Regions from separate parts of the Homo sapiens genome. Here all the other regions are linked to region 2. The links are contacts of gene promoters, found by promoter capture Hi-C in human tissues and cell types (Jung and others, 2019). All regions are on one chromosome and are shown on one strand. Each heading gives the region's core, a stretch centred on a gene start or on the middle of the fragment in contact. The rest is flanking DNA. Distances are from core to core; before and after follow the strand shown.

Evidence for each region. Contacts are between HindIII fragments. The study calls those that stand out against the background at their distance.
Region 1: a contact is called between a fragment that was not itself captured here and the fragment with the promoter of LRGUK in region 2, in 2 of the 25 tissues and cell types used here (H1 embryonic stem cells and dorsolateral prefrontal cortex).
Region 3: a contact is called between a fragment that was not itself captured here and the fragment with the promoter of LRGUK in region 2, in 1 of the 25 tissues and cell types used here (H1 embryonic stem cells).

What each region holds. Positions count from the first base shown.
Region 1 is chr7:133,977,060-133,982,057 of GRCh38, reverse strand. The region is part of intron 14 of EXOC4 (exocyst complex component 4); the gene reads right to left. Among named protein-coding and RNA genes, the nearest start is that of LRGUK, 150 kb to the left of the region's middle. The HindIII fragment of the contact is 5,052 bases long and covers 1,145-4,998 here.
Region 2 is chr7:134,126,021-134,128,589 of GRCh38, reverse strand. LRGUK (leucine rich repeats and guanylate kinase domain containing) reads right to left here and starts at 1,250. Exons shown (of 20, transcript NM_144648.3): 1 at 926-1,250. The coding sequence starts at 1,222. RefSeq lists enhancers at 968-1,237, 1,348-1,397. The HindIII fragment of the contact is 8,230 bases long and covers 1-2,569 here.
Region 3 is chr7:134,359,988-134,364,980 of GRCh38, reverse strand. No RefSeq gene overlaps it. Among named protein-coding and RNA genes, the nearest start is that of SLC35B4, 46 kb to the right of the region's middle. The HindIII fragment of the contact is 4,550 bases long and covers 1,272-4,993 here.

The DNA of each region.
Region 1 (4,998 bases), core at 2,421-4,920, 150 kb after region 2:
TCTCATCATTTAGCTCCCACTCATAAGTAAGAACGTGTGGTATTTGGTTTTCTGTTCCTGCATTACTTTGCTAAAGATAATGGCCTGCAGATCCATCCATGTTCCATCAAAAGACATGATCTTGTTCTTCTTTATGGCTGCATGGTCTACCATGGTATATATGGACCACATTTTCTTTATCCAATCTGCCATTGATGGGCATTTAGGTTGATTCCATGTCTTTGCTATTGTGAACAGTGCTGCAGTCAACATTTGCATACATATATATGTCTTTATAGTAGAACTATTTATATTCCTTTGGGCATATACCCAGTAATGGGATTGCTGGGTAGAACGGTAGTTCTGTTTTTAGCCCTTTGAGGAATCGCCACCTGTTTTTCACAATGGTTGAACTAATTTACACTCCCACCAAGAGGGTATAAATGTTCCCTTTTTTCCACAACCTTACCAGCATTTGTTATTTTTCTGACTTTTTAATAATAGCTATTCTGACTGGTGTGAGATGGTATCTCATTGTGGTTTTCATTTGCATTGCTCTAAAGATCACTGACTTTTAGCTTTTTTTTCTTGTTGCCTGCATGTATGTCTTCTTTAAAAAAATATCTGTTCATGTCCTTTGCCCACTTTTTTATGGGGTTGTATTTTCTTGTAAATTAAAAACCCAGTATTTTTCACTCCATCTACAGTTTTATGTGGGCACTGAAACAATGACACTAGCTTTATACATTTGATCGCAAAATCTGAGAGCCATCGAGACTGCAGAGGAAAATAGGCAGAATCTTAGAAGCCATGGCCACTCTGACTGCCATGTGGATAACATCTGGACAACTGATTTATCTGGAAGAAGAAGCTGACCCTGCCACCAAGTACATAGATCATCACCATGAGTAGCTGTGTAATTGGTGGGGGCTCCTCTGAAGCATGTTAGAAGTAAAAAACAGAGAATTAACTAGTTGACACATGGTACAGACTTTGCAGGTGTAAATCTTGCTAAGACAATTTCTACTCAGTGAGGACAAGTGTGGCCACCTCTCAGCATGGGGTGAAGATAATAGTTAAGTACCTCCCCTTTAATCTGTCTGGTGTCAGACAGTCCCTGTGCAGGCTGATTGATGAGGTGGTGTGATACACATATTGACTAATGCTTTGTGAAGGTTAATAATATATGACTATATTTCTGTCTTTATACGTTAGTAACACATGAATACTATTCACACATCCATTCCAGTTTTGCCACATAATCCCTAGAATAATTAACAGTTCATATAGATGCTTCCAGAATCAATTTTTAAAAAGTAAAAGATTAATAATCAATCTGTGTTTATGCCAGTTGAGAGTAAGCTACATGGAGAAGCAATCATCTCTATCAGTTGACTACACAATTTCAGGATATTACTTCAAAATCTAAATATTTTTCGCTAAGTAAAAGGATATGAGTATTCTCCTATTAACTAAGAACCAAATTCTTACATACAACACTTCTTTTGGATTGACAACCATTTCTTTTTGATTGGCCCAGAAAGTAGTAGTTACATTATGATTCAACCACTTACTAACTGGATAACCTTGGGGAAATCGTTAAACCTGTTTATTGAAGTGACTACATTTTCAGCCTCAAAGGGTCATTGTAAGGATTCAATGATATAAAACACATGAAGCATTTAGAACAACCTTCGGCACACAGTAAGTGCTCAGCACATTGAAGTGATCTTTATTGAACCCCCTGGTGAGGATCCTGGAAGAGTGAGATTCCTAGACTCATCCTCTCACTCCTCGAAAAACCTTGCAAGAAATCTGACAGCTGTGGGCCTAGTTGTTCATGTGGCTAATGGCCAGAAAGAAAATGATACATTAATCCATTAAACATACACACTGGGTAAGATCATGACATTTTGAACTTAAAATAAGGCATCATAGAAGTATGAGAACAGCACAGGATTCTGGCAATGTTTAAATTAGTGAAAATACGCAGGAGAGAAAAGGGATTAAGGCAGAGGGCAGGTTCAAATTTTATCTTTTCATACATAAAAAGGGGAGAATGCCTTTCTCCAGTCGCCAGTTCAGTGGTAGAGATGGCCTTCAGGCATGAGGTAGGTGGTAGATTGGTAGGAAAGCCAGGAATGATGTTGAGGAGCAGCGTGGGAGGAGATAAATCAGTGTTTTTAACATTATTTTGAAGAATGACAGGCATCTCCCTTTCCAAGGAAAGGATGTCTGCCAAGCTAGGTTCTTTAACGAAGGCAATTTAGGGTTTTTTTTTCTTTTTTTTTGAGATGGAGTCTCGCTCTGTCGCCCAGGCTGGAGTGCAGTGGTGCGATCTCGGCTCACTGCAAGCTCCGCCTCCCAGGTTCACGCCATTCTCCTGCCTCAGCCTCCCGAGTAGCTGGGACTACAGGCGCCCGCCACCATGCCCGGCTAATTTTTTTGTATTTTTGGTAGAGACAGGGTTTTGCCATGTTAGCCAGGATGATCTCGATCTCTTGACCTTGTGATCCACCTGCCTGGGCCTCCCAAAGTGCTGGGATTACAGGCGTGAGCCACCGCACCCAGCCGCAACTTAGGGGTTATTTTAGGAATTCAAAGAATATTCACCAAAGCCTGTAAATTGTTCATGTGATTGAGAGATCATGTCTGCCTTACTCAAACAGGGCCTGGAGTCAGCATTTATTTCCTGACCGCCGTTTATTTCCTTTCTACCAAAGAGGCACTATGAGAAGGGAAGAAGATTACTTGAGTGTAATCACACTCAAGTGTGATTACCTTTACCTGGTGGTAAAGGTAAGACAGTAATGATTCTGAATCTAAACAGCCATTATGATACCTATGAAGTTTTGACCTCAAATGATAGAAATTGTGTTATATTCACCTGAAGAGACAGAAATTGGATTATAAATTATTTTAATATATACATAAAAACACTGACAAATCAGGTTTTCCACTAAGGCTTAAAACAGCTGAATCAGGATTATTTTGGAAAGATGCTTTTTATATTTACTACCACAGGAGACTTGTTATTTTATCTGCTTTCTTGGAAATACGTTCACCTTCCTATTACTCTAGACTAAATTTACTGTACAGAGTGAAATGGGAACATACCCTTGTGCTTTGTCTGTTGTCAACTCAGTGTCACCTCTAGCCACTTTCCTGGAAGCATAGGAACATCTACAACTTCTTGCCAGTAGGGGTTTTGGGTTTGGATTCTGCCATTGAGATGTACTCCCAAAAGCTGTGTAAGGCAAAAAGAAAGGGAAGGCAGGATTCTCTTCTTACAGTGGCAGAAAGATGCTCAGGCAGCTGGCAAATCAGAAGCTTGCAGCAGCTTCCAGAAGAGCTCCTGCAGACAGCTGCTTCCTCGCAGCAGGAAGGTGAAATCCCCGGCTGCATTTCCTGATTATCCTGAAAGGCAGCAGCTAGATTCCTTGCTTTTTGTATCCTTCCAACGGCTGTCTAAGCCCTTTCAGCAATTTCTAAAACATCGTATTCCCTACATTAAATTCCTTCTTGCTTGAAATACCTAAAATGGTTTCTGTTCTCCCAACTGAGCCTTGATGAATGAATGTAACCTTCTACTCCTGAGACATTTTTGAACTATGGCACTTTAAATCTCAGAGAAGACTGGACCAGGAAGTAGTGAGATGAAGGGTCACCAAGGATCTCTGGGCTACCTTTAATGCAATGCTGCAACCTCTAAGGCAAGGATTTTTGGAAAGTGCCCTGCAGAGTTCCTAATCTCTGTTAAAAGACCAAATTACAACAAACGTAGATCTCAACTGGCTTTTATTTGTGATTCTAGAATAGTGCAGCAGCCCAGACCAAAAATGGTTCAGAATGCTCTGCTCTACCACATGTGTAGATTATATTTATAGCCAGAGAAAAGGAAGTGACATGTAACGGGAGGGATGTACAAAGGATGCATACTTGGTTAAAGCTCAGTGTTTGCCTCATTTGAACCTGGGTTGAAGAGTTGGCTGCCTATCACTGACTGAAGCTTGGCTGCTGTGACTGGCTGAGACTCAGCTACCTGTTACAAGAGTAAGTTCTAGTCTGTTTGCACATCAAGTTAGGTTACAGTTCACTATGTACAAAGAAACCTTTTGGTCAAACTTAAAACATGTACAGAGGCAGCTTTGGGCCAAACTTAATTCAATTTAACATTTTTCAGTCTCCATTCTCTCCATCTTGCCTTCCCTGCTTCCTTAGTCAGAGAGGCTCCACTTTGATTTGTTACCCAATTCAGACTTTACAGTAAAATTCTGCTAGAAGAAAGGGTTCTGCTGCTAAAACAAACAAACACACACACACACACACACACACACACAAAACAACAAAACCAACTCAAACAAAAAACCACACACACAAAAACAAACAAATAAACCACAACAACAAAACAAACCAACCCAAAGCAAAGAAAAAACCAGCTGCTCGCAAACCACTATCTTTGAAAAGGAAAGATTTGGTCACAGCAAACAAGTTCCTACTGCACTCCACTCTCTAGCTGTGAGCCAAGGCAGGGATAGAAGTCAAACATTCAAATTATGGCACCGTTCCTATAGGCTGAGGACGAGTGGGAGGACAATCTATATAAATAATATTTATTTGGAAGCAAGTGATTTGCTTTCTCCTTTCTCTTCATTATTTTTGCTACATAAACTCTAGTATCTTTTTTTTTGGATTTAGTGAATACTGAACACATTATGAATTGCTCTTATTCTCAATAACACACACAAGATGCCCTTGCAAAGAAGATTCAACATTCCTTTCAGAAAATGTTTCACAGGACTATTTTACTTTTTAACTTTTTAGAAAAGTATGCCATGGGTTTCTCTACTATTTTCTAGAATCCCAGGTTAAAGATGTAGACCCCACCAAAACAGACTTCTTAGCAAGGTCACTCAATTTGGAGCTGCTTTCAATTATTCTGTAAAAGCTTCAGCTTAAGACTGAATGTATCTTCCAAACAAAGTCCATGCCCATGAGCACACTCAGTGTGTTACAATT
Region 2 (2,569 bases), core at 1-2,500:
GACAAAGCCAGACTCCATCTCAAAAACATAAACAAAATAGAAAGGAAGCAAATTAAATTACGCTTTTGAAAGAAAGCAATTTATTAGAAGCCAAGAGAAAAGAAGTGATGTGATGAGAAGTGGAAAAGGACAAGAAGACAACAATGGACTAAGAAAGGAAAAGGACCATAATAAGCATAAGAAAGAAGAGGAATTGTGTGGTGGTCAGAAGAGATATTGTAGAAAGGAGGGAATGGCAGTCATGTGAAACGCGAAGCCGCCATCCCAGTCAATATGGGTGGGATGATGGGAACATTCCCCACATCCTAAAATATTCCCACAATGAGCTGGCTGTTCGAACATTATAAGGCTCTTTTCTGGTGTGTGTGCATGTTGCTTGTATAAGGCATATGCCCCCGACAGAAGTAATGTATTCAACTTTTAAGTCACTTAGTCTTTGAAGAAGCACTTTCAAAAGCGGATTTTTTTTTTTTTTTTTTTCCTGGAGGGAGGCTGACGGGACTAGAACTGAGGAAGAGTGTGGAAGTATGTCATAGCCATGGGCAACAGGTGCTGGCAATGTCAGAGATGAACTCTGCCTATTCACAATACTGTCAAAGTATAATTTTGAAAAAGCTAAAGCCATAATTCCCAGACAATTATCTAGACACTCTTACAAAGTGACGCTGTGTTAACTCGACTCATAAGAAATCAAATGTGTTAATGAAAAAAGAAAGGAACTATTTAGAGCTATTTCAGGCAGGGGGTGAGAAAACGGGGTAAAAGACAGGGGAAGAAAAGAGGGGGAAGAGGCGTTCCTGGAGGCGAGAGAGCCTGAGAAGGTGTGGGAAGCTTCGGGCTGGTGGGGGTGCATCGGGGAGCTGCCGCTGAAGTAACAGGGCTGGACGAGGGAGCCAGGGAGTACGGGGTGGGGGGGAAGACACACCTCCAAATTCAGCATTTCGGACTCTGAGGACTCCTCGGATCCCGCCTCGCCCTCGCCCTGGTCCTCATCTCCGTCCGAGTCCAGCTCCTGATAGCGGTGCATGAGCTGCTGGAGCAGGTAGGAGGAGGCTATGTTAGAGCTGCCTTTCGTCTTCTGCCCCATGGGAAAAGACCAGCAAGGCTGACGCTCTTTTTCTGCGCGAAACTGTAACGATCGGGCTCCAGTTCGGGATCTGCCCAAGCCTCTCAGGAGAGAGGCAGCTCTGGTCCTCAGGAGAGCCCTCTCGGAGGTCGCCATCTTGTTTAGCGGGGTTGCCTAGGAGACTGACCCCAGGCAAGGGGAACCGCGGAGGATTCTGGGGCCTGTAGTCTCCTCCGCGCGTACTCGCCTTCTGCAGGCGGGGCAGTGGGCGCTCCACTTGACTTTTCTTTTTCTCAGTCTCTTCTGTTATTTTTCTCTCTTTGGTCTGTTCTGTTCGCTTATCTTTCCTGTTTTCACCTCTTTTCGCTACACCCCCTTTCTTTGTCTCCAGCTGTTTCCTCCCTACCCTGAGACCCCTCTTAGAGCTTTGTCATCCCACGATAGGATCGCAGGTGCGCCACCGTTGCCGCTTCATTCCCAAAGGGCTCTTTCCGCAGAGTCGTACTTTAGAAGTGTCTAATGTCTCTAAAGCAGTCTGTAGGAAAGCTAGTACCACTGAAATTTATGCAAAGCGCGACGCTAGGAGATGAGGGTGCATATAAGTGAAATAGAAGGCATGGTTCCTGTCCTTATGATTTAATTGCAGATAATAAAGAGAAACTACCAGACGACGCCTGAGAGCTGATTTCCAATTAATTTACATTCCCCACCCCCACCCCCCAATGATAAGCCTTGTCCTTGGGGAGAAAAACTGGCAGTGGTCTTACAATCCAAACAGAGAGAGAAAAAACTGCTGTCAAATTGACACTGTATCTGAAAGCGTCTGAAAAGCTATTAGCATCCCATAAATAATTATATTAGTCAAGTGACCTGCATTGGCAATTATTTTAATCTTGTTGCACAGGCTCTCTTTGCAGTTAAAAAAAATACTCTTTCAAGATAACAAAGCACGATTTTATGCTAGTGTGATTTTATGTGACCCAAATCCCATAGCCTTAAGCTCCACAACGTCGACACTCTATAGAAAAGCAGAATGAAAATTATAGTAACTATTATTGCCATAGTGATGACAATAGAGATCCTTGCAGGGAAGTAGCCCTCATCCTTCTGGCCTTACAGGGCCTTTTCTGCACGCTTCAATGACAGCAGTTGCAAATACAAAATGATCCTGTCAATGGCTGTCAGGGGAGAAGGAGAAAAAATCCTTATGGACACCATCCATTGACGATTATCTTTCTCAGTGCTTGAGGGACCGTTAAAACTGACATAAAGCTTTCAGAATTACCTTCCTTCATTATCTTGCTAGTCATAAATGTAAAGGCCACAAGCAAAATATCTCTTTCTGCCAGGCTCATCTTGCTTTTTGCTTATTTCTTTTTCCAATAAGTAGAGATTCCTCCAAGGGAATTTTCCCCACCCTTACCCTCGTAGGGCCTGGCTTCGGCTAAGTGACATAGGGAAGAATCAGGCAGAAAGTGTAAAAATGCAAATCTCGATCGTTTT
Region 3 (4,993 bases), core at 2,297-4,796, 230 kb before region 2:
AAATCACTTCAAGTCACCATTAGTGTGGCACACCTATATTTGCAAAAGGTGTTGCCATTAGTTCATGAAAATGGAGTCTTAATCTCTGACCCTTCACCTTGGGGATAAGAGAGAGAGTGCAGTCAAGCCAGTTGGGCACTGAGTCAGAATTAGACCTACAGTCTCCCTGGAACTTGTGCATCCCCCACCCTTCTCCCTGTCTTGGCTTCCTGTTGTCCACATGAGTCACCAGCTGCTGCCATCCTCTGGAAGGTTAGCTGCCCAATGAACTATTGGGCTTTAATGGCTAAGAAATTTTCCAGTGGTTCACCATGTTTGCCTTTCACATAAGATCATGCCTTCTCCTCTTGTGTTTACCTTTGGATTTCAGAAGGGAAAAGAAAAAGTGGAGCACAGAAATGAAAGAAAGGATAAAAGGAAAAGAAAGGGAAGGAGAGGTGTTCTGGAAGTGCCTACCTGGTTCAGAAGGAGACAGCTGAAATCAAGCCAATGGAGGTATGTCTGTGTGCCACGCCCACTGACCCCCATGCCCAATCTCAGGCTTAACATCTCCATTATGCACATGGCTGCCTGGAGCAGTAATAGGATAATCTGTAAATCACATAATATGGATTTACTTTCTTAATTGTATTTTTATGCTATTAAAATGAATTTAGTCTTGGCCTTATTAAACAACAAGGGACCATTACAGATTCCTAGGAGAGAGGACAATTTGAACACAGCAGCTTCTATTTTCTATCAACCAGAATCATGGCAAGAAACAGACACATTCCAAAGGGATGTTCAAAGACAATTCATTACAGGGACTATGTACAGTGGTGTGGGCAGAGTATAGGGAGCCAGCAAGGGATGGAGCAGGACCTCAGAACTAGCAACGGTGGGAGCCATTATTGCCTGAGACCTGAAGCGGTTCCTAAAACCTAGATGGAGATCTAGCTCTAGCTCCAGGGGACAGACAGGTCTGGCCAGAAGCTGTGGTCTTGGGTAGAGGAACATGGTATGGCAGGAAGGGATGAACCAGGGAAATAAGCCTGACCTCTTTCCTCTCACCCTCCATTCTCCTGTGGAAACCTCCCACTGGCTGAACCCACCCAGAAGTGAGAGGATGAGAGAACCCCTGGAGGCTGTTCACTCACACCAGCTTCCCAGGGTCAGAGCAGGGCCCAGAAGTGAGGCACTGGGTCTCCAGGGGCAAACAGAGAAGATCTAGTCTCTATCTGTGCAGCATATTATGATATCCAGAGAATAGATATTTATCTCTATAGGTAGAGATAGATGCAGGTGTATAGGTTCAGATAGATTTTTTTAAATCTCATTTGATCATCACAATGACCCCGCAGGATTTTCATGTTTTTCAAATGCAGTAAATGGGGTTCTCAGAGGTCAAATCATTGACCCCACTAGAAGAGGTGGCAGAGTGAGGACATCAATCCAGGATTTTGACCCTTACAGACAGCACTCTCTGCCTCTGCCCCTTCTCATACCTGCCTACCACTTCCTTTCTCCTCACCTACCCAGGGTTGACCTGTCCTTCAAGACTAGGTCAAACCTGTATGAATGAAGTAACTCCATCGATCCCATACCTTTTGACTGCCTAGAGCCATTGGTGGTATTCAACACAGCACAACTTAGCAACTATTTATTCACTTATTGACTTTGTATTGTTCTGTGGGTGTTGTCCCTGAATGTCAGAGTCTATTTTCCTGAGACAAGATCAATACAGAGTCTTTTGGATGTCAACTCCCGGCAGCACTTAGCCTATTCTACCCCTCAGATCAATAACTAATTCCCAAATTTGAATAAGCAGCATGAGAAGGGAGATTGGGCCATGTTAGGATGTGTGTATGTGTGTGTGAGCAAACAGTATTGCGTCAGCCAGGGGCTGATGCAAGAAATAGAAGGACTCTAGCTGAAAGTGATTGAAGATAGGGAATCAGGCACCCCTATAATCACTGGGCAAGCAGAAGCAAAGCGGTCACCTTTGGATGATTGGTTTCTAGATCAAATTACCCTAGCTGTGATCCATAACTCAGGGAACTGTTATTACATCACACAATCGTGTGAGGCACCACGCAATTGCCTCACACCACTGAAGTGAGGACCAGACACCTAGACATGGAGTTGAGCCACCACAAACATTCGTCACTGACTGACCTTGCTTCCAACAGCCACAGTGTAGGCAGATGGCCTCTGCCTGCTTCTCTATTGCTCCAGCAAATTCAGCTCAATGGCACCATCTCAACTGTACCAGGATCCCGACTCTAAGAAATATGGGAGGGCAGTTTGGGGCTTCTCCTCTCTTGCAATGTTGAGGGGAGATCAGCAGGAGGTGGAAATGGATCCTGATTGTCAGTAAAGCACATGGCTGCAGACAGATGTGGAACATCTGGTGCTACCGTCCTTCGAAATCAGACAGTGTGGTCGGGGCTGTATATCTAGGAGGTCTGTAGACTTGGTAGGGTTGAGGGAAAATGCTCCTGAGGTATTTTAGATTGAGCATTTCTATTCCATTGGTGAAATTTCACTGTGGGCTTCAAGATCAGCCTTGAAGGGAGGCAGATGTCACAGAAAGACAGCCTGTACCATGAAAAGAGTGTGGTTGATGCCAGTATGGGGAGCATGGATGGGGTGAGGCTGGTGTTGGATTATCAGTAGTTTTAAGGTATAAGAACCTGAGTGTTTTGAGCACCAACTGCTCATTTAAAGCTTCCCCTCTCAAGCCCGCAAACACACACACACACACACACACACATACATGTACACATACACACCCCTTCCATCTTGAGCCTTTCTTGATCAACAGTGCCCCCCTACTGGTACTGCACAAACATTTACTCCAGTCTTCTGTGCCCTGGCAACAAATTAGCTCTATTTGAACTCAACTTTTAGATGATGGAGGGAAGACACTAAACTAAACTGAGATGCTGAGGAAATTGGAACTGGAGCACATAAAGCTTAGCTCCCGGGATCTGGGACAGCCCCTTCCTCTTGATATGCTGAGCTGACTCTAGCTAGTCAGGACTTAGAACAGTGGTCCTCAGCTGGGGGCTGGTATGGCATTTGGCAATGTCTGGAGACACGTTTGATTATCATGACTGGGCAGGTGTGCATCTGGTGTGTAGAGGCCAGTGATGCTGCTAAACATCTTACAGTGCAGGGGTCCTCAGGTACCATGGTACCTAACAGGCTATGGACCAGAACTGGGCCACATAGCAGGAGGTGAGCAGTGGGCGAGGCTGCGAAGCTTCATCTGTATTTGCAGCCACTCCCCATCACTTGCATTACTGCCTGAGCTCCATCTCCTATCAGATCAGCCGTGGCATTAGATTCTCATATTCTCACAGGATCATGAACGCGGTTATGAACTGCACATGCAAGGGATCTAGGCTGCACGCTCCTTATGAGACTCTAATGCCTGATGATCTATCACCGTCTCCCAATCACCCCCGGATGGGACCATCTAGTTGCAGGAAAACAAGCTTAGGGCTCCCACTGATTCTACATTGTGGTGAGTTGTATAATTATTTCATTATACATGACAATGTAATAACAATACAAAGAAAGTGTACAATAAATGCAGTGCGCTTGAATCATCCCAAAACCATCCCGCCCCACTGGTCCACGGAAAAATTGTCTTCCCCAAAACTGATCCCTGGTGCCAAAAAGGTTGGGGACCGCTGCTACAGTGCACAGGACGAGAAAGAAGTACCTGGTCCAAAATGTCAGTAGTTCCACCGTTGAGAAATTCCGCCTTAGAAAAAGATGGTTTCCCCCTGGGGATGATTCTCAGGATGACAGGGTCTCCACTTTCACCGGGACTCAAACCCCCTGCATGGGTCACAGTTCTCCTGAAATCTGAGACACTGAGAAAGAGACAAGGGGGAAAGAATAAAAACCCACAAACCTCACACACTTAGGACAGTTATTAGAAAAACAACAACAGAAAATAAATGTTGGCAAGGATGTAGAGAAATTGAAATCCTCATATATTGCTTGTGAGAATGTAAAATGTTGCAGCCTCTGCAGATGGAAAACACTGTATCCGTTTCTCAAAAAAGTGAGACCTAAAATTACCATATGATCAAGCAGTCCTGTATGGACCCCAAAGAATTGAAAGCAGGGGATCAAATAGATACTTGTACAGCGTTATTCACATTAGCTAAAAGGTGGGAAAAAACCAAATGTCCATTAATAGAAGAATGGATAAACAAAATGTGATATATACAAACAATGGAAGAGGATTCAGCCTCAGTAAGTAATGACATTCTGACACATGCTACAACATGGATGAAACTTGAAGATGTTATGCTAAATGAAATAAGCCAATCACAAACAGACAAATATTGCATGATACCATTCATATGGCATCCTCAGAATAGGCAAACCCTTAAGAGACAGAAAGTACAATGGAGTTTCCCGGGGTTGTGGGGAAGCAGGAATGAGGGGAGTTTCTGCTTAATAGGAGCAGAATTTCAGTTTGAGAAGATGAAAATAGCTCTGGAAATGGATAGTGATGATAACTGCACAGCATTGTGAATGTACCTAATGCTACTAAATTGTATGCTGAAAATGGCTAAAATGGTGAATTTTATGTTATATATATTTTACCACAATAAAGGAAAAAAACCTACAAGCCTGGGGCTCTCAGCTCTCTTAGACCAAACAGCGGCCAAGGTCAGCAGAGGCCCCAGCTCGCCAAGACCCTCTGCCAGTGACCCACACAGGCCCAAAGGTCTGTTTGCCAGGACTATGCCAGGTCACGACATATTAGCTGAGGTTTTGTTGCACGTGGCCTTGATCACCCCAGGCTCAGACTGGATTTACTAGGACCAGAGACAGCTGGCAGCACATGTGGCCACCTCTTTAGCTCACCAAGAAGGCATCATTTAAAAGTCTGAAATGTTCTGGGCAGGAGGGACCTCCTCTGAAGCCCTCTTGGCTTTCTGTGGAAAAAAGATAAGAGAAAGGGGCTGCACCTTGGAGGAGGGATAAG